Linked DNA regions of Homo sapiens: all the other regions are linked to region 2. Evidence: promoter capture Hi-C in 16 types of primary human blood cells and fetal thymus (Javierre and others, 2016). All regions are on one chromosome and are shown on one strand. The core of a region is centred on a gene start or on the middle of the fragment in contact, and the rest is flanking DNA. Distances in the headings are between cores, read along the strand shown. Region 1 holds the start of RUSC2 (RUN and SH3 domain containing 2). Region 2 holds the start of PIGO (phosphatidylinositol glycan anchor biosynthesis class O). Region 3 holds the start of CCL27 (C-C motif chemokine ligand 27). Region 4 holds the start of SPATA31F1 (SPATA31 subfamily F member 1). Region 5 has its middle 11 kb from the start of CIMIP2B. Region 6 overlaps RUSC2 (RUN and SH3 domain containing 2). Region 7 has its middle 21 kb from the start of RUSC2.

Region 1 (3,136 bases), core at 271-2,770, 390 kb before region 2:
GACAGAAAGCGGAAAAGGATACATCAAAACTAGCAATGGATGAATGAGAACATGTCCAGCCTCCAGTTAAGGCAACTGTGGCTTCAAAAAGGAATCTTAAATACCAGCACAGAAATCAGAGGGATCCTAACCTGGCTCAAAACAGAAGAGAAACAGTGGCTGGCCATACAGCAGGACGGGCATAACTAACAGAATACCAGGTATACTGTTTGGATCTGCTCTTCCTTCCATTAAGCCATCCACCACTGCTTAATATCTAAGGAGCCGGCTAAGAAAATCCAGTCACTACTTTTATTTGCTAATACTTTGAGCCCCAGTTACAATAATGCCACTACTAATTAGGTAACTACTTTCTACCTTATCAACTCCTACAGCTTTCCAGCCATTGTTTCATCCCTCAGCGATACCACCTGCTTCCGCGTGGAACCCAAACCCCCAGGAAACTAAATCTGCTCAGGTCACCCACCTAGGAATAAATAAAAACAGGTTTCAGGCCCTTTGTCCTTTGTAAATTCCGCCTTTTTTTTTTTTTTAAGGCCTGTGTTCTTTATCACGGACACTGTTCACATAGTGGTAATCCTTGCCTGACTCAGATCTACTTGTTCCTGCGTTTCATTCCTCCGCTGCTCAATTACTTGTTCAAAACGCAAAGGACAACTGGTAGTGAAGACCCTCCACCAGCAACACTACCATGTGCCAGGCACCGTGCTGGGGACCGGGGATACAAAGATGAGTAGTGTACCGTCCTTGCCCCCAGGACAGTTCCCCGTGTCCGCAGGGCCGGCCTGGAGGGCCACAGCCAACTGTGGGCAACAGGATCACCGTGCCCTTCGCGGCAAGTGAGTGCAGTAGTAGGGGACGGTTACTGCCAAGCCAAAGGTTTTCTCCAGGTAAAACTGGATGACAGAGAGACAGAGACTGAAGCAACGCCGGCGCCGGGCGGATAATAAAGGGAGGCAGGGGCTAAAAGGGTGGAGGGAGCAGAGGACCCGGCCGGGAACTGGCAGTAGGGAGGCCCCCGCTGCAGTCGCCGGCCTGGGTGCCGGGCGGCCACGCTTCCCCAAAGCCGTCACAGGGACTTGGGGTACCAAGGTGACTACTGGGCGCGAGTCGTTTTGTGGGGGGAGGGTGTCCCCAAGGGGGCAGTTTGAGGAGACGGTTGGGGATGCATCTGGGGTGGCGCCCAAAGGGACGGTGGGTGCTGGGTGTTTGAAGGTCCGGTGGACGCAGAGCTGAAGGGTCAGGAGAAGGCCAAGGGTCAGAAGGGCTGGGGACGAGGTCTGCCCAGGGGGTCGGGGCGGACGCAGAGGGCGGGTGCAGCCGAGGGGGAAGGGCTGAAGGGAAGGGCAGGCGCTGAAGGCACATAGGTGGGAAGACAGGCCCTCCCCTAAGGGAGACCTTGGAACGCGGGGCAGTGGGTCTGTGGGACCCTGCCCGCCTCCGGAGAGGCGTTCCTACCTCGTTTCTCGCCTCAGCCTCGTCCTTCCGCGCCGGCGGCGGCGGCGGCGGCGGCGTGTCTCGCCCTCCAGGGGTCGCGTTGCAGGCTAGAGGCGCCGGCGGCCCCTCCCTCCGGGCGGGTTGGAAAGGCCGGCCCCTGTCGGCGTGGCGCGATGGTCCGATCTGGGTTGCCCTCAGGCCGCCCCTCCGGGCGGCGCGTTGGTTCGGTCCGCCCGGCCTAAGGTGCTCGCCCCCTCCCCGGCTCCCGCAGCGATGGGCGCAGCCGAGTCACGCGCAGAGCTTTCCCGCTAAGGGAGCGGAGAGGCTTCCGCCGTGGCCCAATCTTCTGCGGCCCGCGCCCGCCCCCGCGGGGTGGTGCCTGGCGACGCGCGGCTCCCGGGTGCTGGAACCCAGGGAAACCTTCCGCGGGCCTCCAGGGCCGGTGGGTGTGAGTCCCAGCTTCGCCTGAGGCGGCGGTTCTCAACGCTGGCTTCCCAGTAGAACCTAGTGTGGAAACTAACCAAACAACAGAAGGAGGGCTGACCTCACACTGGACCGACTCAGAACCACTGGGGTGGAGTGGGGTGGGGTGAGGTGGGGTTGGCCTCCAGTGCATAGCCAGGGTTCGGAACCCCTGATGAAACGTAGAACCCATGCGCCCCCTGCCCTTCAGGGCCGGATGTGTGGGGGACATGGAAGATGCCTGTGTGTGACTCCTGCTGTTTACAGCCAGAGGGGGATGGGGCAGGCAGTCCTGCAAATGTTATGGGAAACCCACTGTATTAGTCCGTTCTGACACTGCTATGAAGAAATACTATGAAGGAAAGAGGTCTGACTCACAGTTCCGCATTGTTGGCGAGGCCTCAGGAAGCTTATAATCATGGCAAAAGGCAAAGAAGTAGCCATCCTTTTCGCAGGGTGGCAGGACAGAGTGAGTGCAGGCAAGGGAAATGCCAGACGCTTATAAAATCATCAGATCTTGTGGGACTCACTCACTGTCACGAGAAGGGCGCAGGGGAAACCAGCCCCATCATCCAATTACCTCCACCTGTTCCCGCCCTTGACACAGGGGGATTATGGGAATTACAATTCAAGATGAGATTTTGGGTGGGGACACAGCCAAACTGTTACAGGTAGTTAGGCATGAGCGGGGCAGGAGAGGGTTCTCCCCTGCTACCCACTAGGGATGTTGGGTGATGGTTCTGAGGCAGGAGAATAGGGACTGGAGGCAGGGAACCTAAGACTGGTTCATGCCAACTTCCTGGAACTAAATTGAAAGGAAAACCCTAACTTTCCACACCTAAGTAACAAACCCCCCACCCAACTTTTCTGCCCAGCAGATGGGAAATTGGCTATCTGCAACCAATTAGACTGACTGCAGCCGAGTCTAACTTTGCATAGAAGTATAACTTTGTAACTTCACCCTAGCCTCTGATTGGTTGCTTCTTGCAACCAATCAGATGTTTGCACAGGTGTGCGACCTTTGTAACTTCACTTCAGCCTCTGCTTGGCTGCTTTCTGCAACCAATCAGACTGATTGCAGGCTACGAATTCATTTACATGAGGTGAGCATGAAGTGGCGGGTAACTTCTAGGGGGTATTTGGACCCAAGAAGATTCTGTTTCCTGGCCCTTGAGCCGCTGCTCCGGCTGCTCCCACACTGTGGAGTGTGCTTTCGTTTTCAATACATCCCTGCTTT
Region 2 (3,062 bases), core at 563-3,062:
GGGAGGATCACTTGAGCCCAGGAGTTGACCAGCCTGGGCAACATGGTAAGACCCTATCTCTACAAAAAAGAAAAAAATAACAGTAATCACATTAATGTTTTAGTTAGAGCTGTCTTGCTGCAATGTGGAGAAGGGATAGTAGGGAGACACAGGAGGCTGGGAGGACAGTGAGAAGGCTGCCTCAGTGATCCTGGAGAAGGGATGAGGTCTGAACTGAGATAAGGGGCTATGGGGATGAAGGTGGAAGAATAACTCAACTTTTTTTAAAAATTAACATATTCCTTTATTCGTTTGGTCAGTATGTGAACCTCAAATATATGCTAGGTGCTGAGGATATCATGAAGAAAACAGAATTCCCTGACCTCAATGAGCTCACATTCTACTCGGAGGGGATAAACCATAAATACGTGTAGAATTTCAGATGCTGATGAGTTGTGCTATGGAAGAAATTAAGGAAGTGAGGGGAAATTTTTCCAGGGGGTGTGGTGGTGGGAGGTGCTGAACTAGTAAAGTAGGGGATTGCAGGAAGCCTTGCTGATGTTACAGTTGAGCTTCAATATGAAGGTGATGGAGATCCATTTCGGCATCGGGAACTGAAGCTGACAGAGGAGATGGCAAATGCAAAGGTCCTGAGGCAGAACTGCTGTGGATGGAACAGAGTTAGGGAAGCAAAGAAGTGGCAGCTAGATGAATCAGAAGGGGAAGAGGCAGATAGTGTGCAGGGCCATGTAGAGCCAATGCAAGAACTTTTACTCTGAGATGAGAAACCAGTGGACGGGTTTTGTTTCTTTTTGAGACAGAGTCTTGCTCTGTTGCCTAGGCTGGAGTGCAGTAGCACGATCTCAGCTCACTGTAGCCTCTGCCTCCTGGCTTCAAGCAATTGTCCAGTCTCAGCCTCCTCAGTAGCTGGGACTACAGGTACACATCGCCACGCCTGGCTAAATTTTGTAATTTTTAGTAGAGTTGGGGTTTCAGCATGTTGGCCAGGCTGGTCTCCAATTCCTGACTTCAACTGATTCTCCAGCCTCAGCCTCCCAAAGTGCTGGGCTTACAGGTGTGAGTCATCGTGCCTGGCATTTTTTTTTTTTTTTTTGAGAGGGAGTCTTGCTCTGTTGCCCAGGCTGGAGTGCAGTGGTGCAATCTCGGCTCACTGCAACCTCTGCCTCCTGGGTTCGAGTGATTCTCCTGCCTCAGCCTCCCAGGTATCTGGGATCACAGGCGCCCGCCACCACTCCCGGGTAACTTTTGTATTTTCAGTAGAGACGGCGTTTCGTCATATTGGCCGGGCTGGTCTTGAACTCCTGACCTTAGGTGATCCACCTGCCTTGACCTCCCAAAGTGCTGGGATTACAGGTGTGAACCACTGGGCCCAGCCTCCCCTCCTCCACTCCGAAGGATTATTTGCTTAATTATTCAGTCGTAAGATTTAGTTACAGGCTTTGAAAGGAGGAGTAATGAAATCTCAGTTGGACTCAGCTAAGCAAAAAAGGGAAAATAAGTATTATCTCCATTTTACAGATGAGGTAATGCCTAATGATGACAATATGTGCGGCCAAGCTAGGATTCAAGTCAAGTTTGACTCCAGCAGCCGTGCTCTTAGTCGTAACCATGAATGGACAGTGGTTCCCTGAACTCTTCCTCCAGCTTGGTCCCCTGTCCCCAATTTTCAATTACTAAATATCCCATCAAACTGGGGCCAGCCCCACGCTCCTGGCCAAACTTCCACCGAGGTGCCGGCAGATGGCGATGGAGCCACCGACGGGCCACTCTGTCTGGCGCACGCATCTCTGTGCTGCCAGGTCGCAGGCGCCGCCGCCGCCGCACTTCCGGGTGCCATTGCAGGTGAGCCAGGGTCTCCCGAGAACCTCACCCCCCGGTATTCCCCTCACCCTGAAGTAAGGGAGTCTCCCTCTTCCCCTCAGCTCCTAACCAAGGTGCTCAGTACCGCGGCTAGGGTGCCCAGCGGGAGGCTGGGTAGTTACCGGAGGAGGCAGAGCCGGTCGCACGCCTGGGTCCCAGCGGAGGCCCAGTCGACTCTCGACCCGGGCCCCAGCCTCCTTGCGTGGCGAAGGTCGTGCCTCAGGTCTCCTGGCGAACCTGGCCGCCCGGAAGCGGAGAGTGACTCCTCCCCTTCGTCCCCTCGGTGCCCGCCAGGCGGCGCCGTCGGCTGGGCCCGGATTCCCCTGCGGCTTCGATCCCTTTCCACTGGGTATTGAGATTGGCGAGGGGAGAGGCGCAGAAACGGCGTGTAAGAGAGCCTGACTACCAATTGGAATAAGTTTCCCTCCTGACTGTTCACATGTACAGGCAGCATTAGCATTTCCTGCCTGTACATGTGAACGTTCCTATGCTCTACCCCTCGAAGATCCTGATTCAGTAGATCTGGGGTGGGACCTCATGAAACGGCGTCTCCCTCTGTTGTCCAGACTCTAGTGCAGTGGTTCAATCTCGGCTCACTGCAACCTCCGCCTCCCCGATTCAAGCGATTCTCCTGCGTCAGCCTCCCCAGTAGCTGAGACTACAGGTGCCCGCCACCCATTTTTGTATTTTTAGTAGGGACGGGGTTTCGCCATTTTGGCCAGGCTGGTCTCGAACTCCTCACCTCAGGTGATCCGCCCGCCTCGGCCTCCCAAAGTGCTGGGATTACAGGCGTGAGCCACCATGCCCAGCCTGGAAATAGGAGGAGAGTAATATTGCGAGGGGTTGGCTGTGAAATGGTTTATCTCCAGGAAGGTTTCCGGGAGGAAGTGATTCTAGCTGGGCTTGTATTCAGGGACCAGAATATCCACTGGTTCTTTGCCCCACAGTAATGAATTTACTTCCCCACCCCTATCAGGATGCAGAAAGCCTCAGTGTTGCTCTTCCTGGCCTGGGTCTGCTTCCTCTTCTACGCTGGCATTGCCCTCTTCACCAGTGGCTTCCTGCTCACCCGTTTGGAGCTCACCAACCATAGCAGCTGCCAAGAGCCCCCAGGCCCTGGGTCCCTGCCATGGGGGAGCCAAGGGAAACCTGGGGCCTGCTGGATGGCTTCCCGATTTTCGCGGGTTGTGTTGGTGCTGATA
Region 3 (3,328 bases), core at 733-3,232, 430 kb after region 2:
AGGAGCGACTTGGGTTGGCGACCTTTCCTACAGTTCATACCCCAACTTTTGGCTCCTCCAGTCTGATCCCAAGTTTAGAGATCCTTGGCATCAGCCTACCTAGAAGTTCTTGCTCCCTCCCTAGGAGAGTCCAAGGGCCACTGCTCTTTGCCGCCCCCTTCTGTCACCCAATCAGCCTGGGACCCACTAACTCCTCAAGTGGTGAGAATCAGGGACTGCTATGTGGGCCTGCCTTCAGTTAGGGACTGGACCCAGCACCAGAAAGGGCACCACAAGATTAAGTTAAAGAAAGAGATGGCCCAGTTTCTGGCTGGGGCCAAAGCTACAGCAGATTGTGGCTGGGGAGAAGACTTGGTCTTAAAGGGGAGAGATGGGTGCACACCCAAAAGCATTTGTTTTCTGCCTTCCGAAGACTTCTGGACCGACAAGCCCAGGGAAGACCAGAAAGTATGTAGCGCACAGCCAAGTGATGAAGAAGGTCTATGACAAGCCCGAGGAACCTGGGAGATTTCCTTGGGATTTCCTCAGTGGCTACACCCAACAAGCCTTGGGACACAAGAGAAAGGCCTAAGCCCTATCCCAAGAGAAAGCCTACTCCATAGAGAGTGGCTGACCCTACAGCAGACGACTGCAACAAGATAAGGGCTGGATTACTGTGTTATGACTTGGTTTATGTTTCAAATATAGAGCAGGACTTGCAGATTGAGATCCCTGGACCAGGAGTGGGAAATTCTTAAAGGAGCCAGGGGCACTGAACTTGGCAGCATACCCCCACCCTAGGCAGCTCCCAGCTTCCTGGAAAGGACTGGATAAAGATGAATAGGAGCTTTGCATTGCAGGGAGGGGGTAAAGAACGGAGTGACAGCTGGGTATGGGATTAGGAGAGAAGCGGCTATAGCTGGAGGGTGGGATGCAGGGGGTATAGCAGTTGGACATGAGGGTGTGACTGAACCCGGGTAGGGAGAGGGGATGTTCCTCCAGGCCCAGGAAGGAGGCTGGAATTTGAGTAAAACAAAGATGTAATTGAGTGCTTGAGTCCAATGTCTTCAACAAGTCAGGGACTGGATCTGGAGACCCTAGGCCCCTGCTGGCAAGAGGTTGGCATTCCTGGAACAGGACTAGACAAAAACAGGAAGGTAAGATTCACTGGGCCTTTTACCTGTTTTGACAACAGTAACCTAGCACCAAAGAGCTTTTATCTTCCCTCCTTATCTACCCCACCTTTCCTCCCTGTCTCATCATCCTGGGGAAAGCTGCCCCACCTCAGCATCTCCAAAACACCCTTAATATTACCATAAAGGGCCTTCCCCCAGCTTCTCTGAATGGGGCTGGCCTCAGCCAAGAACCCTCCTCAGCCAGAAGGGCCTGCTCTAGGGACCCATTCCCATCCATTTCTTCTGATAAGACAGGCAGGCCAAGCCAGGAAGTGGGGAGGAGAAGGTGAAGGCAAGTTGGTGCTTGCCTGCCCTCTGCTCCCACCCCACCCACAACTCCCCTGTCAGAATCTGTGTGTGCTAGTGTGAATTTGCTTGTGATTGGATGACTGTGAAAACACAATTGGGTGGGAGAGGGACTTTGAGTATAACCGGGGCTATATAATTTTGTCTACGGTTGTCTGATCATGAGTATGACTTTGTGAGGTTGACCAAGTGATTGAGGAGTGACTTTGAATGTGTGGCTATGCGTATTTGAGTGTGAATGTCTATCATTAGATGCTGCTGTGGATGCTTGACTGCCCTTACTCACTGTTCCATCAGTCCCTACATCACACACTAATCCTTCCCCCAGCTTCACTGCCCAGAGCTTAGGAGCACATGGGAAATGGCTATCCTAGATGAGGAAGGAGTCTGTGGCAACAGGCCGAGAATTAGGGCCCAGGAGTGTCACAGGTTACACAGTACATCTCCAACTGCCTCTGACTCACCTAGTGCCCCAGGTAAAAGGCACCCAGATAAAAGGTAGGGGAGGAGGAGAGAGAGAGAAGGAAGAGTCTAGGCTGAGCAACATGAAGGGGCCCCCAACCTTCTGCAGCCTCCTGCTGCTGTCATTGCTCCTGAGCCCAGACCCTACAGCAGGTGAGTACTTGGGGGTATAGAAAGCTGGGGGTCTGGGTGAATGGGATGAAGTTGAAAAGACCCAGGAAATCCAACCTAACCTCCAGCTGTCTGGCAGAGAGGTTCTTGGTCAGGATCCCTCTGAACACATGGCCCTGTTGCCCCTAGCATTCCTACTGCCACCCAGCACTGCCTGCTGTACTCAGCTCTACCGAAAGCCACTCTCAGACAAGCTACTGAGGAAGGTCATCCAGGTGGAACTGCAGGAGGCTGACGGGGACTGTCACCTCCAGGCTTTCGTGTGAGCTCCCACCCCTGATACCCCTGACTCTGACCTCAGTCCCAACCCCTAATGCTGATCCCAACCCCAGCCCTAACTGCTAATTCTGTTGCCAACTCAGGTTTTCATCTGGTCCTTGCTCCTAACCCCTAATTAGGGTCATTGGGGATGACCCTAATCTCATCCCCAAGCTATGGTCATAGCTTTGGACCTTTCTCTACCCAGGCTTCACCTGGCTCAACGCAGCATCTGCATCCACCCCCAGAACCCCAGCCTGTCACAGTGGTTTGAGCACCAAGAGAGAAAGCTCCATGGGACTCTGCCCAAGCTGAATTTTGGGATGCTAAGGAAAATGGGCTGAAGCCCCCAATAGCCAAATAATAAAGCAGCATTGGATAATAATTTCTGAGTATAATCTCCAAGAACTTCCTTATTCTCTTTATTCACACCTGCACAACCCCTGCAAGGGGAAAGGCCAAGAGCCAAGGACCCACACACACTCCCCAGGCACCTACATACATGCATGCAGAGAATACATGTTCCCTGCCTCACAGACACATGGTCACACATGGACACAGATGTACACATTACACACGTTCCTTGAGCAGAACTCCAACTCTGGGGTGAAATCAGAGGTACAAGCACCTTTCAGCTGCAAATTTGAAATACAGGGTCTCACAGAAATGGGCTCCAAACAGAACTTCCAGCTGAGATCCAACCATAGGGATCTACTGTCCTGCCTGGTTTCTATCCACACCAGCAAGACAGAATTATAGGTGGAATCTGCCGAAGCCCTCCTGGGTCCTCTACAGGTTTGGAGCTCCTAGAAGAAGCAGGAGGCAAATCAGGAGAGACAGTAAGACCGGATCTTGGCCCAGACACCCTGAGAATGAGGGAGGTGACTCAGTTCTAAGCTTAACACTCTGAAGATGAGTAGAGGAGCCCAGCTCTGAGGGAGCCTCTTCAACACACTGAAGATACGGGAGTGGACCTA
Region 4 (3,054 bases), core at 552-3,051, 370 kb after region 2:
TGGAATGTTTGTAACACAAAGAAGCGATAAATGCTTGAGGTGATGGATACCCCATTTACCCTGATGTGATTATTATGCATTGTATGCCTGTATCAAAATATCTCACATACCCCATAAATATATACACCTACTATGTACCCATACAAAATAAAAATAAAACATTTTTTAAAAGAGAGATACACGAGGAAGAAAAATAGGAGGAGACAGGGATGAGAGACAGCTATACACTCTTCTGCCTTTTAAATTTTGTGCCATGTGTAAGTATGCTTACTTTAAAAAAAATAGTCTTAGGGATTGAAATAAAATAGATACAAAGGCCCTCCCTCCATCAAGAGGCCTCTATCCTGATCCTCCAATCTTTCTCACAATTGCTCTCCAGTCCACCCTTCTATATTCTGCTAGAGATACACTGCATTTGTTATTGCCAAATGAACTCCATGGCCCATTCCCTAGATTCAGCATGAGCTGGTAAGTTTTTCTCCCACCAGGAAGAGTCCTTTTACCCACAACCTGCACTGTTAAACTTAACTTCGACTACCCAGGAGCCCTCTCTGATGACCATGATCCTCACTATGATTTCTCTTCTCTGAAATGGAATGTTTGTGGCCAGAGCCTTACGAATGAGTATATAAGTCTATTTGTAGTGATTGTTGGCTCTTGCTTTGTATGAATTAGTCTTGTCTTTGAAACTACATTTTTAAGTATCTTGAAAGCAGAAAGCCAATGCGGCTCAAATGTCTTTGTATCCTCAACACTCCCCAGCTTAGGGCTGAGCACATATTGGGTGCTTACCACATCTGCTGGGTGGGCTGGATACTGAGGAAGGACCAAAGCCTCTTCAGAGATTTTCAGCCCAAAGGTTTCTTGGCCTGAGACCACCATTACCAGAGCAGAACTCTCTCAAGGAAATTCAGGAATACTGAGGTGTTGGTGGCATATCACAATATCTACAAAAGCTAGGCAGGTAAATCAATAGTCTGGCTATGGAAGTAATGGGTCCTGAAGCTGAATTGGAAAACACATGCCCTGCCTAAAAATTTACAAAATACAGATTTGAGAAAAATAAACAAACAAACAAAAAAAACATCCTCAGGCAAACAGCATACATCCAACCATGAACAGCAACTAGTCACTTGTGACCCACAGTCAGAAGCGGCCACTAACCCATCTCTGCAGGCATTCATCTCCCTGAGCATGAATGTGCCTCCATGGAAGGTAGCATTTACAGTCCCAACCCATCTGCAAGCTTGAGGCCACACAGACCAGATACGTACAACCACCTTGGCCTCTCCCTACCACCCTACCACATCAGCCATGGTCCCCTTCCTGCACCTCTGTTACCAATCACCCATTGCCTAAAACATCAAAGATCTCCATTTCCAAGCCATAACCAGACTCCGCCCTCCCTAAATTCATGTGTGTTTCTCAGGTATATTACCAAAACTAGTGGGAGAGTTAGTGGAGGTTCCTCCGGCCTATCTACCCCTTCTTATGAGGTGACCCCTGTGCCAAAGCACTCAGTTTTCTGAGGACAGGTGACCATACAGTTGTGAAGGAGAGAGCCGAGGCATCAGGCTGGTATAGGGAGTGGAAAGTGAAGACAGACTAGGAAATAGACACTGCTTGTGGCACCTTCAGTCCCAGGCTCAAAACACCCTCATCTACAGACTGAATCACCACATGAGCTTCCCTACTACATGTACCTTATGAAACAGGAGGGCTTTGTGATGCAGTCTGGTGGCCTAGTTCCGTCCTCTGTGAGGTGGACATGACAAGGCCTAGCACTGGGATTCATTAGGCACCAGAACCCTGAATTCCGAGATAGAGGGATGGTTGATCTCATGCTAATGAAGTTTAGACCATGTTGAGCCCTACTTTTGTTCTGTGGGAAGTTGGATATCCCTTATACATCTATGGCTCCATCTTCATCGTTATTGTAATTATCTGGCAAGTGAAAAGGAGCCACCATGAATTGAGTTCAGAACCTAAAAGGAGCTGCTGCCGGGTAGGGCTGTGATCCCAACTGAACTAATTAAGCCTCAGATAAGAAGCCTATAAGTTCTTACCGTGCTCCCTTATAATCCCCACCCCAGAATTTTTATAGCATACTTTCAGTTACCTTTGTGTAATACTTTTCTTCTCAGAGACTATAATTCCTTACCAGGCCCTTCCCGCAACATAGTCTGATTGAAAAGCCAAGAACCTCTCTATTTGGTTTGGATTGAGAACTAGATAATATGAAGTCTATCTTGCTGGATCTCGGAAGCTCTCTGAATATGGGGGATTTTTCCGGTTGGTGGGCTTTGTAAGCAGAAGTCCTTTGGTTGTTAGAACCATTTACCCTTTTGTCTGTTCTGCTTTTCCTCCTGTGTCATCCTCAGCATCCAGCAGGACTTCTCTGTGAATCAGATGGGAGGTATAGAATTTGGAAAAGCCTCCAAGTGAATCCAAAATAAGCAGAGAAGGAAAATGGGGTAAAAAGGTGGAATAGGCAAAGGAAGTCCAGGAGAGTGTATAAAATACAGATAGATATATACAAAGCGAGTGAAAAATGTATGTAAGTTTTGTCTCATTTTGGACATGAGAAAGAAAATGGTGTCCCAGCTTCACATTCTAATGTTTTTGTCTTCTAAGTGTCACCAAAAAGTCAGGCAAAGAGCTAGAGATGCAGCATCAACAGGTAAAGTCCCAATCTCTCCTCTGACTCCCTTCCACTGTGGGTGTTTCCCATGAATCCTGTCCCTCTGTGACCTCTGGAGCCAAGAGCCAGGTGCTCTGCCACTGAAGACTCCAGTTCCCCAGACTGAAATTTCCATGGGTGGGAAATCATAACTTGAGAATGTTCCAAAATCCTGTACCTCAATGCCCTGGAAATGAAGAATTAAGAAAGTAGAGCAGATGTTCTTAATTGTATAACTTACTAGTTTTATGACCCTGTGGAAGTCATTTCATCTCTCATTCTTATCCACAAAATGAGCAAAACACTGACAATCCTGCCTCAATCACATTGTGGTTGTAAAAATCAAATGAAATTAGATATGGGACATTGTGTTA
Region 5 (2,936 bases), core at 259-2,758, 480 kb before region 2:
GTAGAGGGGCTTGAGCAAAGCAGTTCTAAGACAGAATACGGTAAGGGGCTTGCAACTGGCTGTCAGGAAAACAATAACTTCTAACTTCAGGGCAGAAAAAGTTGATACCAATATTCCCGTAGTGGGTGGGGCTATAACCTATAATCCTAGAGGGAATGTCAATCCTGAAAACCCCAGAGCATCTGGGAGTGGCCTATCATACCAATGCTGGAAACCCAGAGTGCCTGTTTCAGCCAATGAGGGTCCCCTCACCAAATGCCAAAAACCTGGGGGCACCAAGGGAGTGGCCAACAGTGAACCCAAGACCAAGTTGGGGTCATAGAACAATGTGACTCTGGTGTCCCAGAGTTGACGCAACAGAGCACAACTAAACATCCAGCCTTAAACAATTGCTCAAACACAGTTAACAGAAAGTCAAAAGGAAACATAACGCTTCAAATGAAACGTAAATTTTTGGACTCGAAATAAAAATAAAATGATTGGTGGAACAATAATATGGAGTCAGAGAAGAAAGCACAGGGGGGAGAGGTCACAAGGATGTGCCTCAGGGCACTCATACTGTGGGGGACTTTTAACCACTTAGCCGAAGGCTTTTTATTCCCCAGCTCACTAGATGTTATGGAGTAGGGGAAGAAGGGACACTTACCCATCCATAGGAGCCAAATGGCACCAGCCAGTCTTTCATGTGGGACCCTGGTGAAGGTCCCTCCAGGACCCCCCAGCTTGGGTGGGCTCAGCTGTCACACAGGGGGCAAGCATAGGGACTGGTAACCCACTGGCCTGCCATGGTCAGAGCTCACATGAGGCAGTGACATTATGGCCATTAGTGTGTCTGCTTGGCCCTGCCGCCTGCCAGGGAAAATGATGGCTCTGAAAAGAGCCTTTGGTTAGTGTTAGCAGCTCTTTATTGTTACAGCCTCAGTGTTATAGCTCTTGCAGCCTTGATCACAGACCGCTTTGCGGTCTCTCGCTGTCTCTGCTTGGTCTTGTCAGTCTCTCACTGTCTTCCCAGTTGCTGTCTCTCATAGTCGTCACCTCTCCACTGACCGCTGATTGCCACCGTCTCTGCTGTCCCACCATCTCACCTGTCTGCTGACTGCCACTGTCTCCACTGACTTGCTGCCTCTTGCTCATTATCTTTTTCCTTTCATTGATCACCAGATGATGGGAGGGCAGGTGAGCCCCCAAATTGGGGCTTAGCCTTGGGAGGTTCTTAGCTTTGCCCAGGAAAGAAAATCCAAGGATGAGCCAGTGGTGTTAGACAGCAACTTTTATTGAAGCAGCAGTGTATACTTAAAAAATTTGGTAACAGAGTACATCTTTCTTTTCCCATTATGCTCTTCCAAGATCCTAATAAACCTGCAGAGGTACTGGTCCTTGTGGAGCAGGGCTGTCCTATAGGCTGTATGCTCAGAGCAGCAGCTCAGAGGCAGTGCTGCATTCAGATTTATACCCACTTTTAACTACATGCAAATTAAGGGGTGGACTATGCAGTAATTTCTGTATGTAAAGGGTGGTAACTTCCAGTTCATTGGGTCATTGCTGTGGAAAGGGGTGGTAACTTCTGGGTGTTGTCATGGCAATGGTAAACTGACATAGCACACTGGTGGCCATGTCATATGGAAAACCACTTCTGCCCCATCCCTGTTTTAGCTAGTCCTCAATTTGGTCCGCTGCTGAGCCCTGCCTCTGGAGTCCAGTCCCACCTCCTACCTCATTATCTTGATAGTATTTCAGACTACTCAGGTAGAGTGAATTCCATCTGCAAATCACGCATGAGCCAGCTTGTAGTTATGAAGTTTTAGGGGAAATATGTCCCCCTTTTTCACTTGGTACCAAGTTTTGAGATAGGCAATTTTCTTTGTAGTCCCCTGAGGAAGGATTTGGGGGGCAGATGGATTTCTAGGGGCAAGGTGGGGTGCGGTGACTCATGTGTATAATCCCAGCACTTTGGGAGGCCAAGACAGGCGGGTCACTTGAGGTCAGGAGTTTGAGACCAGCCTGGCCAACATGGTGAAAGTTAGTCTCTACTAAAGTAAATACAAAAATTAGCTGGGTGTAGTGGCGGCGCCTGTAATCCCAGCTACTGAGGTGGCTGAAGCATGAGAATTGCTTGAACCCAGGAGGCGGAGGTTGCAGTGAGCCGAGATTGCACCACTGCCCTCCAGCCTGGGTGACCGAATGAGACTCCATCTCAAAGAAAAAGAAAAAAAAGACTAAAGGGACATAACTTGATGCATGCCAGTTTTATGCAGGAAAAATTTTCTGTTAGACTCTCCATCTTGGGTGGTCACTGAGTTTTATCTCCTTTTCTCAGTACTTCATGAACCTGTGAAAATGAACCTCCAAGTTTGTGTGGCTTGGCCAATGCCATTAAGCCAAAAGTGCCTTCTATCCTTTGCCTAGTTTTTGGCCTCTGATGATTTCCCTTTTTAAAAAATCACTTTATTGACATACAGAAAGTTGTACAGCAGGTTCTCAAATGATGTTTCACTCACTGTTGTTACTTTATAACATTGATATGAAAAAATATTTTATTTTTATCATTTTTTAAACTTTTTATTTTTATAGAGACCGGGTCTCTGTCACCCAGACTGCAGTGTGGCGGTGTGATCATAGCTCACTTACAGCCTCAAACTCCTGGGCTCAAACGGTCCTCCCACCTCAGCCTCCTGAGTAGCTGGGACTACAGGTGTGTACCACCTTGCCTGGCTAATTAGTCCAGATAATTAATTTTAATTAAATTAATTTTTTAAATTTTATTTTTTATTTTTGTAGAGAGGGGGGTCTCCCCGTCTTGCCTAGGCTGGTCTTGAACCCCTGGGCTCAAGTGATCCTTCCACCTCAGCCTCGTAAAGTATGGGGATTACAGGCGTGAGCCGTTGCACCTGGCCAGGGGAAAAAAAGGTTGATTCAGGCCAGGACCACTGTCTATA
Region 6 (3,037 bases), core at 93-2,592, 450 kb before region 2:
TGGCCTCATCTTTCCCATCATCCAGGTTCAGAATCAGTCTTCTGAATCCTTCATTTCCCAATATGTCAGCCTCTAAGTCCTGCTGATTTTATCTCCTCAGTGTATTTATTTATTTTTTTTTTTTGAGACAGAATCTCACTCTGTCTGCCCAGGCTGGAGTGCAGTGGTATGATCTCAGCTCAGTGCAACCTCCACCTCCTGGGTTCAAGCAATTCTCCTGCCTCAGCCCCCTGAGTAGCTGGGATTACAGGTGGGTGCTACCACTCCTGGCTAGTTTATTTTTTATTTTAGTAGAGCTGGGGTTTCATTATGTTGGCCAGGCTGGTCTCAAACTCCTGACCTCAAGTGATTCGCCTGGCTTGGCCTCCCAAAGGGCTGGGATCACAGGTGTGAGTCACTGCACCCAGTCTGCTCAGTGTATTTTTGAGTCCTCTGTCTTTCTCCAGTGAGCCTATTCCACTGTAGCTGTGGGTCCTGCCCTGGCCTAGAAGGATAACAGATCTAGGATGTGGAACCTCTAGTGGTATGGATGGGGTGGTCTGGCAGGGACCTGTCAGGGAGGTGGCCATGCATATCCTGCTGGTGAATAGCCACATATTTGCTAACCCTTAGGCTCCTTACCGTCAGCTCTAGCTCTTGCATCCCTCTGGGTATGGCTGTTGGCTGGGCTCCCTGGGAGAGCAGGCCCTGGATCCATCAGCTGAGCCAGGGGGCCTTGCCCAGTAGCTCTGAGGCCAGCAGGAGGCATCTCACTGGAGTGGGGTCCCTGACAGACCTGGGTGGACCAGGGTGGACTTGGGTCTGGGCCAAGTAGGTCCATGCCTGGCCCCAAAGGCATGGGTGGCAGGCTATGGCTACAGCAAGTGCCCTCATCCAGTGGGGCCCCCCGATCTTGCTGGGCTTCTTGGATGGGTGAGAACTCCTGGGAGGAGTCCCCAACACTCACACGAAGTGGGGGCGAGCCAGAGCCTCCAGTTTTCTTCCGGCCCTTGGCCAGCTCGGCAAAGGAGGTGACCCTCCTGGGTGGGGAGCCAGGCCCGGCCATGGCTGCAGGGCCCTCACTCAAGCGCACTGGGCAACTCAACATACGTTCCAGCGAGCCCAGGCGGACAGGAGGGCTGCGCTGCAGGCTGCGATCATAGCTGCGGGAGCGCTGACGTCCAGTGCTGAGGTTGGGGGGTGAAGTATTCGTGTATACTTGTCCCTCAAGCACAGTGGGGCCCACAGCAGCTGCTGCTTGGGTGGAGGAACTCACTGCTTCTTGTTCCTCTGGCTGGACTTCTGGCTTCTGGAATAGGTAATACTCAGAGGGCTGGCTGGGGCCTGGGTCTGGGCCAGGGCCTGGTGGGGGACTTATCTTGGTGTGTTCCTCAGAGCAGCTAGTGATGGAAGAGCCAGCAGGGCTTGGGGATGATTGGGAAGATAGGTCACAGGTGACAAGTTTATAGTAATTTTGTGTGGCCACAACAAGACGGGCCTGGCTTTGGAAGCAGGCTGTGAGGTCAGCCACTGCTGGGCACGGCTCACAGTGTGGGCGGTAGGAGTTGCAGTTGGCATCAAGCTCAGGAGAAGAGGCATGAGGGCAACCATAGCCCCCTTCCCTTCCTCCACTTTCAGGGTGATGGGACTCATAAGACATCTTAGACTCAAATGGGGAGGGCTGCAGATCCAGATAGAAGGCGCCAGGGTCTGAGTGGCTGCAGAAGGAAGAGTCGCTGCAGGACTGTGGGGCAGAGTTGAGATTGGCACGGGGGGTGCCATGCATCTTGTTGTAGAGGGTGCTGAAGGTGACCAGCACACCATCTGAACTGTTGCAGGAGGAGTCGCTCACATAGCCCATGGACTGGTCAGCTGCCTCGGACTGACTGGATGTGCTACTGCAGCGGCAGTGCTGGTCCCCTGAGCCGGAGCATCCAGGGTTCCTTGGGGATTCATCTGAACTGAGCTTCCATTCCTGGTCAAAGGAAAAGCCAGAGGTATCGCTGGCTCCACCCCCACTGCCACTCCCACCAGGTCCCCCACACTCATCCAGCTCCATAGTCTCTGCTTCCAGCTCTGGCCGGCAGCAGTGGCTGGTGCCGCACTGCTGAGTATCCAAGGTCATCACTGGCTCCTGTTCCTGCCCTTCCACCACTCCAGCCCGACTGCGTGTTGTCCCCCATGGCCTGCCCACTCTGGGGCCAGATGGTGGCAGCTGGAAAGAGGATAGATGAAAGTTGGGCTGGCCAGTGCCATGCAGGTGGAAGGACTGCTGGGTGGCACTGTCACCAATGCTGTCATCATACAGGTCACCAAGTCCTGGCTCACCCACACCCTCCTGCAGCAAGAAGGGGTTGTGTCGTTTGGGGGCTCCAGGGCCTCTTCCATCCCGACTCCTACTCTTGGTGCTGTCTATAGACCGTGCAGTTCCTCCTGGAGTAGAGTGCAGGCTGCTGAATAGCAGGGAGTCAGCTTGTCCTAGGTCTTGATCGGGCTGGGTGATGCCCAGCTCAGGTGGGCAGAAGGGATTAGGTCTTGTGCTCCCACCACCTCCACCTGCCCCTCCACAGCACTGCCTGTCTGGGACTTGGCAGTGCACCAGGGGGATGTGATGAACGATGAGGGTCTCTCCAGTCAGCTTTGGGGGACTATCCATTCTGGAAAGTTCGAATAAGGGCTTCAACAGCACCAGACACTGTCCCTGGAGCCCAGTGGGGCAGAACACATTTCATCAGGAGAGCTTGGCACCTGGAGAGAGAGGGAAAGAAAGGGAACCTAATGTCACCTCCCTGGAAGTCAGGGGCATGCCCTTCCCTACATCATTTTCAGATGGAGAAGAGCCCAGGAAGAGAAAAGGCTTGAGTCAAGATGGAGCTTGACCACACAGCCCAATAGGCAGGTGGGGACGTAACCATGCTTTCTGCATTGCACAGGTGCAGCACCTGAGGTCCCCCTTAATTTTAAGGTCACTATGCATCAAATTATGACAAAAGGCCAAGTCCTTCTAATGCCACATATGAAGGTTTGGGCAGTACTTTCCCTTTCTCTTTCAAGGACC
Region 7 (3,177 bases), core at 478-2,977, 370 kb before region 2:
TCCATAATGTATCCAGGAAAAGTTACAATTTTGGAATTTCTGCAGTAATGCAAGGTGTGATAGAGTAACAGTTAACTTATAAAAGGCTGTGTTGGCCCAATTGGAGGATTATTGCTCCTGTCACATGGGGAAGACAGAGAACCTTGACACACTCAGAGTTTATTTCAGAAGAAGGAAAGAAGCTATGAAAATCAGGAATAGTTTATGGGCTGACCCTCTGATAAATTTCCAGGCAGAGCCAGCCTGCCTGTGGTGTGTCTCCTCCCACAACAACCTCTTCTCATTTTATATAAGTTTTCCCTATTGCCTCTGTCATACTCCTCTTCTGCTCCAAATAGCGTCCATTATAGATTCTTTATGGCTAACAAGCATGTTCATTTTAAAACAGTGAAGACTTTTAAGGGGTCTCCTTCTTATCATCATTCATACTTAATGTGTGTTAGTCTGCTTTATTATAAGAGTGATTATTAGTAATCCCTGTCTGAGACAGCTGCACTGACAGATGGGGATTTTTTCCTTTGAGGTGAGGAAGGAGGTGCTCAGGTCCTCATCATTGACTCATTACTGATAATCTCTATGCCTGGAGTTGGGACCCCTCCCATCCTTTACCATATCAGCCACCATAGCAATCTCTCTAAACCTTAGCACATAGTAGATACTCAATAAATATTACTAAATAAGGTAATCTAGTTACATAGGGTCCTTTTTTTTTTATTGCCAAAAAGCCCCGGTACAGGGTTTAGAAAGCCTGGAAAGGAGGAAACTAAAATGTGTTTGGGTGTGTGTATGTGTAAGGAAATGCAGAACCCAGAAAAGGATGATCAGAGTAGGGTAAATACTTTTTTCAGCTATTTCAAATTTTCATTCAAGGTGCTTATGAAAAAGAGGAAGGGAAACCCTTCCTCTTCTCTTCCACAACTTTTAGGAGTTGAACTTAGGTCACAATTACACCTATCTACCATCTGTCACACTGTTTGTGTGGGAAAATGGATTCTGAATTCTGATTAATTGACTTACAAGTGAATGTTTGGACCTATCTCATTGGTAAACTATGGGCTGCCTGGCCTATCTTCCTGGGGAAACTACCCATGCTTTAAGCATCACCAAATTTGTGTGTATGTTTTCTAGTTATTTCATGTGTTTTTATGTCTTATTTAGCCACTTACTTTATAAGTTATTTGAGGGCAGGGATAACTGTCTTTTTGTATAAACCACATAGTGTCTTCCTAGCACAGTATTCTGGACATGGAAGGCATTTATGCAACCTCTAGATATATCTCAGAGCATTTTGTACACCACCTACTGTGGAGAGTGAGGGGTTAAAGAGCACAAGTGTATGCTTTTTAAAAGTTCACACTCTGGTTGGGGAATTAAGTAGACAGTATGAAGTCAGCTCCTCCCCCACACCCCAAAGTGATCAAAGAAGCCTACCTGACATAGAGGGAAATGGGCACCATGGTATTGAGAATAATGAAGTAGGACCAGAATATGAGGATGGCAGAGACAGCTGATGAAGAGACATATTTTACCCATGGCAGAAAAATCTGGAAGTGGTAGCATTTCTTGTTCTGCCAAATGCCATGCCCAACTGCTAGGACAAAACACACGATGCCTAAAACCAGGAAAATCGATACATGAAAAAAAAAAGAATTAAATTAACATTTTATCCAACATATGTGCTGCTTCAGTTCTACAGTCTAGAGCCTTATCTCTCAGCAAAGCGTCCCTCTCCTAGGAGGGCAGGGAGGCCCTATAGTTCACAGTCTCTAGGCAGCAGTACATAGGACAGAAAAGAAAGTCCAGCAGAAGCCCTCCTTGGGATTTTCAAGGGAGATAATAGTAATAAAACATAGTAATAACTAACCAAGTGCTAGGTACTATGCTAAGTATTTATACATATTATTTAATATTTACAATAATCCTCTTTTAATAATAGATGAGGAACTTAAGAGTGAGAAAGAATTTTGTCTAAAGTCACTTAGCTACTGAGTAGAAGAAACAGGTTTTGAACCAGTTCCAGAACCCAAGCACGTAATCATTCCATTATTGAAGCTGCTTTAACAGAAGTCTAAAACGTGTGGGGCTTAGCAGTTAGGGGGTGGGTGATAAGGAAACTGATATAAAAGGCTGAAAATATGGTAGTCATGTTAACATGAAAGAATTTGATAAAACTGAAAGGTAGACCATATGCCTACTGAACCTGCAGCTCTAAGAGAAGTGGTTAAAAAGAATCAAAATATCATTGTGTATTGACTGCCTTTGACAGGTATTAAAAGAAAGAGTTGGTTGGGTGCAGTCACTCATGCCTGCCATCCCAGGATTTTGGAAAGACCAGACAGGAGGATTGCTTGGGGCCAGGAATTTGAGACCAGCCTGGGCAACATACTGAGACCTCATCTGTACTAAAAAATTTTTTTTAAAGTTAAACTAGGGAAAGAATTAGCCAATTTGTAGGCAGAAATAAGGAGGTACAGAAATTTGGGGCATCAAAGAACTACGACTTCTAGACACTAAACAGGAAGAGATAAGATTGAGACCTTAAGCAAAAAAGGCCCAATAATTGTTTTCAACTGAATAAAGTGACTCAGCCTTCGGGCAAAGTTCAGGTTAAAGGTGATACCTTCTTACCCATGACTATTATTCCGCATAGCCTCAACTTTCTTGCCAGTAAGTTGAGAGAGAAGGGCATGGAGGGGCAAGGAAGCAAAGAAACAGGATAAACTCAAAAACTACGTCTAGGAAAGAATTTTGGGGGGCAGGGGGTTACTGATACATGAAACTAATTGGAAGCAAACAGATGAGAAGCCTTATGGGTTTTGAAGGAATGGTATTACTAGATAACTATGAGCCTGGTCTAAAAAAGCCTGTGACTGTTTGGAAATCCTTAAAACCACACTGGGCAGGAAGCAGGTTATAAAAACTGCAGTCCCTAAGAAGAGCATACTCCCCAACATCCACTTCAGGGTTGGTCAGCAAGGATAAAGAATGAGGGAAAACTTCTCAGGAGTGGAGCCAGAAATCACTGAGAGCAATGAATAAAGGAGATCCTCTCACATCTCCAGACCAAGAGGAACTTCATTTAGATCTGATGGAGAGGACTGTGCATCAGTGAGAGATCTTGGACTCTGAGTTGGATGCAGAGACTGGGTAGGATTTGGGGGAGATGATGAGGGTGTT

Evidence for each region. Contacts are between HindIII fragments. The CHiCAGO score rates a contact against its expected background, and 5 or more counts as called.
Region 1: the fragment with the promoter of RUSC2 here is called in contact with the fragment with the promoter of PIGO in region 2 in 9 of 17 cell types (megakaryocytes, monocytes, erythroblasts and 6 more); the score reaches 11.0 in megakaryocytes.
Region 3: a contact is called between the fragment with the promoter of CCL27 here and the fragment with the promoter of PIGO in region 2, in 1 of 17 cell types (neutrophils). The highest score is 5.9, in neutrophils.
Region 4: a contact is called between the fragment with the promoter of SPATA31F1 here and the fragment with the promoter of PIGO in region 2, in 2 of 17 cell types (M1 macrophages and M0 macrophages). The highest score is 5.2, in M1 macrophages.
Region 5: a fragment that was not itself captured here is called in contact with the fragment with the promoter of PIGO in region 2 in 2 of 17 cell types (M2 macrophages and M0 macrophages); the score reaches 6.7 in M2 macrophages.
Region 6: a contact is called between a fragment that was not itself captured here and the fragment with the promoter of PIGO in region 2, in 5 of 17 cell types (M1 macrophages, M0 macrophages, megakaryocytes and 2 more). The highest score is 9.3, in M1 macrophages.
Region 7: a contact is called between a fragment that was not itself captured here and the fragment with the promoter of PIGO in region 2, in 7 of 17 cell types (endothelial precursors, M2 macrophages, M0 macrophages and 4 more). The highest score is 10.4, in endothelial precursors.

The regions. Positions count from the first base shown.
Region 1 is chr9:35,488,495-35,491,630 of GRCh38, reverse strand. It overlaps RUSC2 (RUN and SH3 domain containing 2), which reads right to left and starts at 1,520. Exons shown (of 12, transcript NM_014806.5): 1 at 1,459-1,520. LOC105376026 (a long non-coding RNA gene) reads left to right here and starts at 4. Exons shown (of 2, transcript XR_929580.4): 1 at 4-200; 2 at 375-512. RefSeq lists a silencer at 1,552-1,851. The HindIII fragment of the contact is 5,552 bases long and covers 1-2,310 here.
Region 2 is chr9:35,095,341-35,098,402 of GRCh38, reverse strand. PIGO (phosphatidylinositol glycan anchor biosynthesis class O) reads left to right here and starts at 1,812. Exons shown (of 11, transcript NM_032634.4): 1 at 1,812-2,248; 2 at 2,837-3,062. The coding sequence starts at 2,838. PIGO-AS1 (PIGO antisense RNA 1) reads right to left here and starts at 2,099. Exons shown (of 2, transcript NR_186491.1): 1 at 1,983-2,099; 2 at 259-643. RefSeq lists an enhancer at 1,806-2,145. The HindIII fragment of the contact is 7,045 bases long and covers 1-3,062 here.
Region 3 is chr9:34,661,311-34,664,638 of GRCh38, reverse strand. CCL27 (C-C motif chemokine ligand 27) reads left to right here and starts at 1,982. Exons shown (of 3, transcript NM_006664.4): 1 at 1,982-2,075; 2 at 2,223-2,355; 3 at 2,560-2,749. The coding sequence starts at 2,006. The coding sequence ends at 2,695. IL11RA (interleukin 11 receptor subunit alpha) reads right to left here. Exons shown (of 13, transcript NM_001142784.3): 13 at 2,737-3,157. The coding sequence ends at 3,141. It overlaps LOC730098, which reads left to right. Exons shown (of 3, transcript NM_001320038.2): 3 at 1-476. The HindIII fragment of the contact is 12,066 bases long and covers 1-3,250 here.
Region 4 is chr9:34,728,235-34,731,288 of GRCh38, reverse strand. SPATA31F1 (SPATA31 subfamily F member 1) reads left to right here and starts at 1,801. Exons shown (of 4, transcript NM_001141917.2): 1 at 1,801-2,005; 2 at 2,635-2,680. The coding sequence starts at 1,862. It also overlaps a transcript of PHF24 not described here. The HindIII fragment of the contact is 7,130 bases long and covers 1,249-3,054 here.
Region 5 is chr9:35,573,515-35,576,450 of GRCh38, reverse strand. No RefSeq gene overlaps it. Among named protein-coding and RNA genes, the nearest start is that of CIMIP2B, 11 kb to the right of the region's middle. The HindIII fragment of the contact is 7,332 bases long and covers 1-2,936 here.
Region 6 is chr9:35,546,120-35,549,156 of GRCh38, reverse strand. RUSC2 (RUN and SH3 domain containing 2) reads right to left here. Exons shown (of 12, transcript NM_014806.5): 2 at 622-2,727. The coding sequence starts at 2,635. Among named protein-coding and RNA genes, the nearest start is that of CIMIP2B, 16 kb to the left of the region's middle. The HindIII fragment of the contact is 7,783 bases long and covers 1-3,037 here.
Region 7 is chr9:35,467,579-35,470,755 of GRCh38, reverse strand. It overlaps the pseudogene ATP8B5P. Among named protein-coding and RNA genes, the nearest start is that of RUSC2, 21 kb to the left of the region's middle. The HindIII fragment of the contact is 5,907 bases long and covers 1-3,177 here.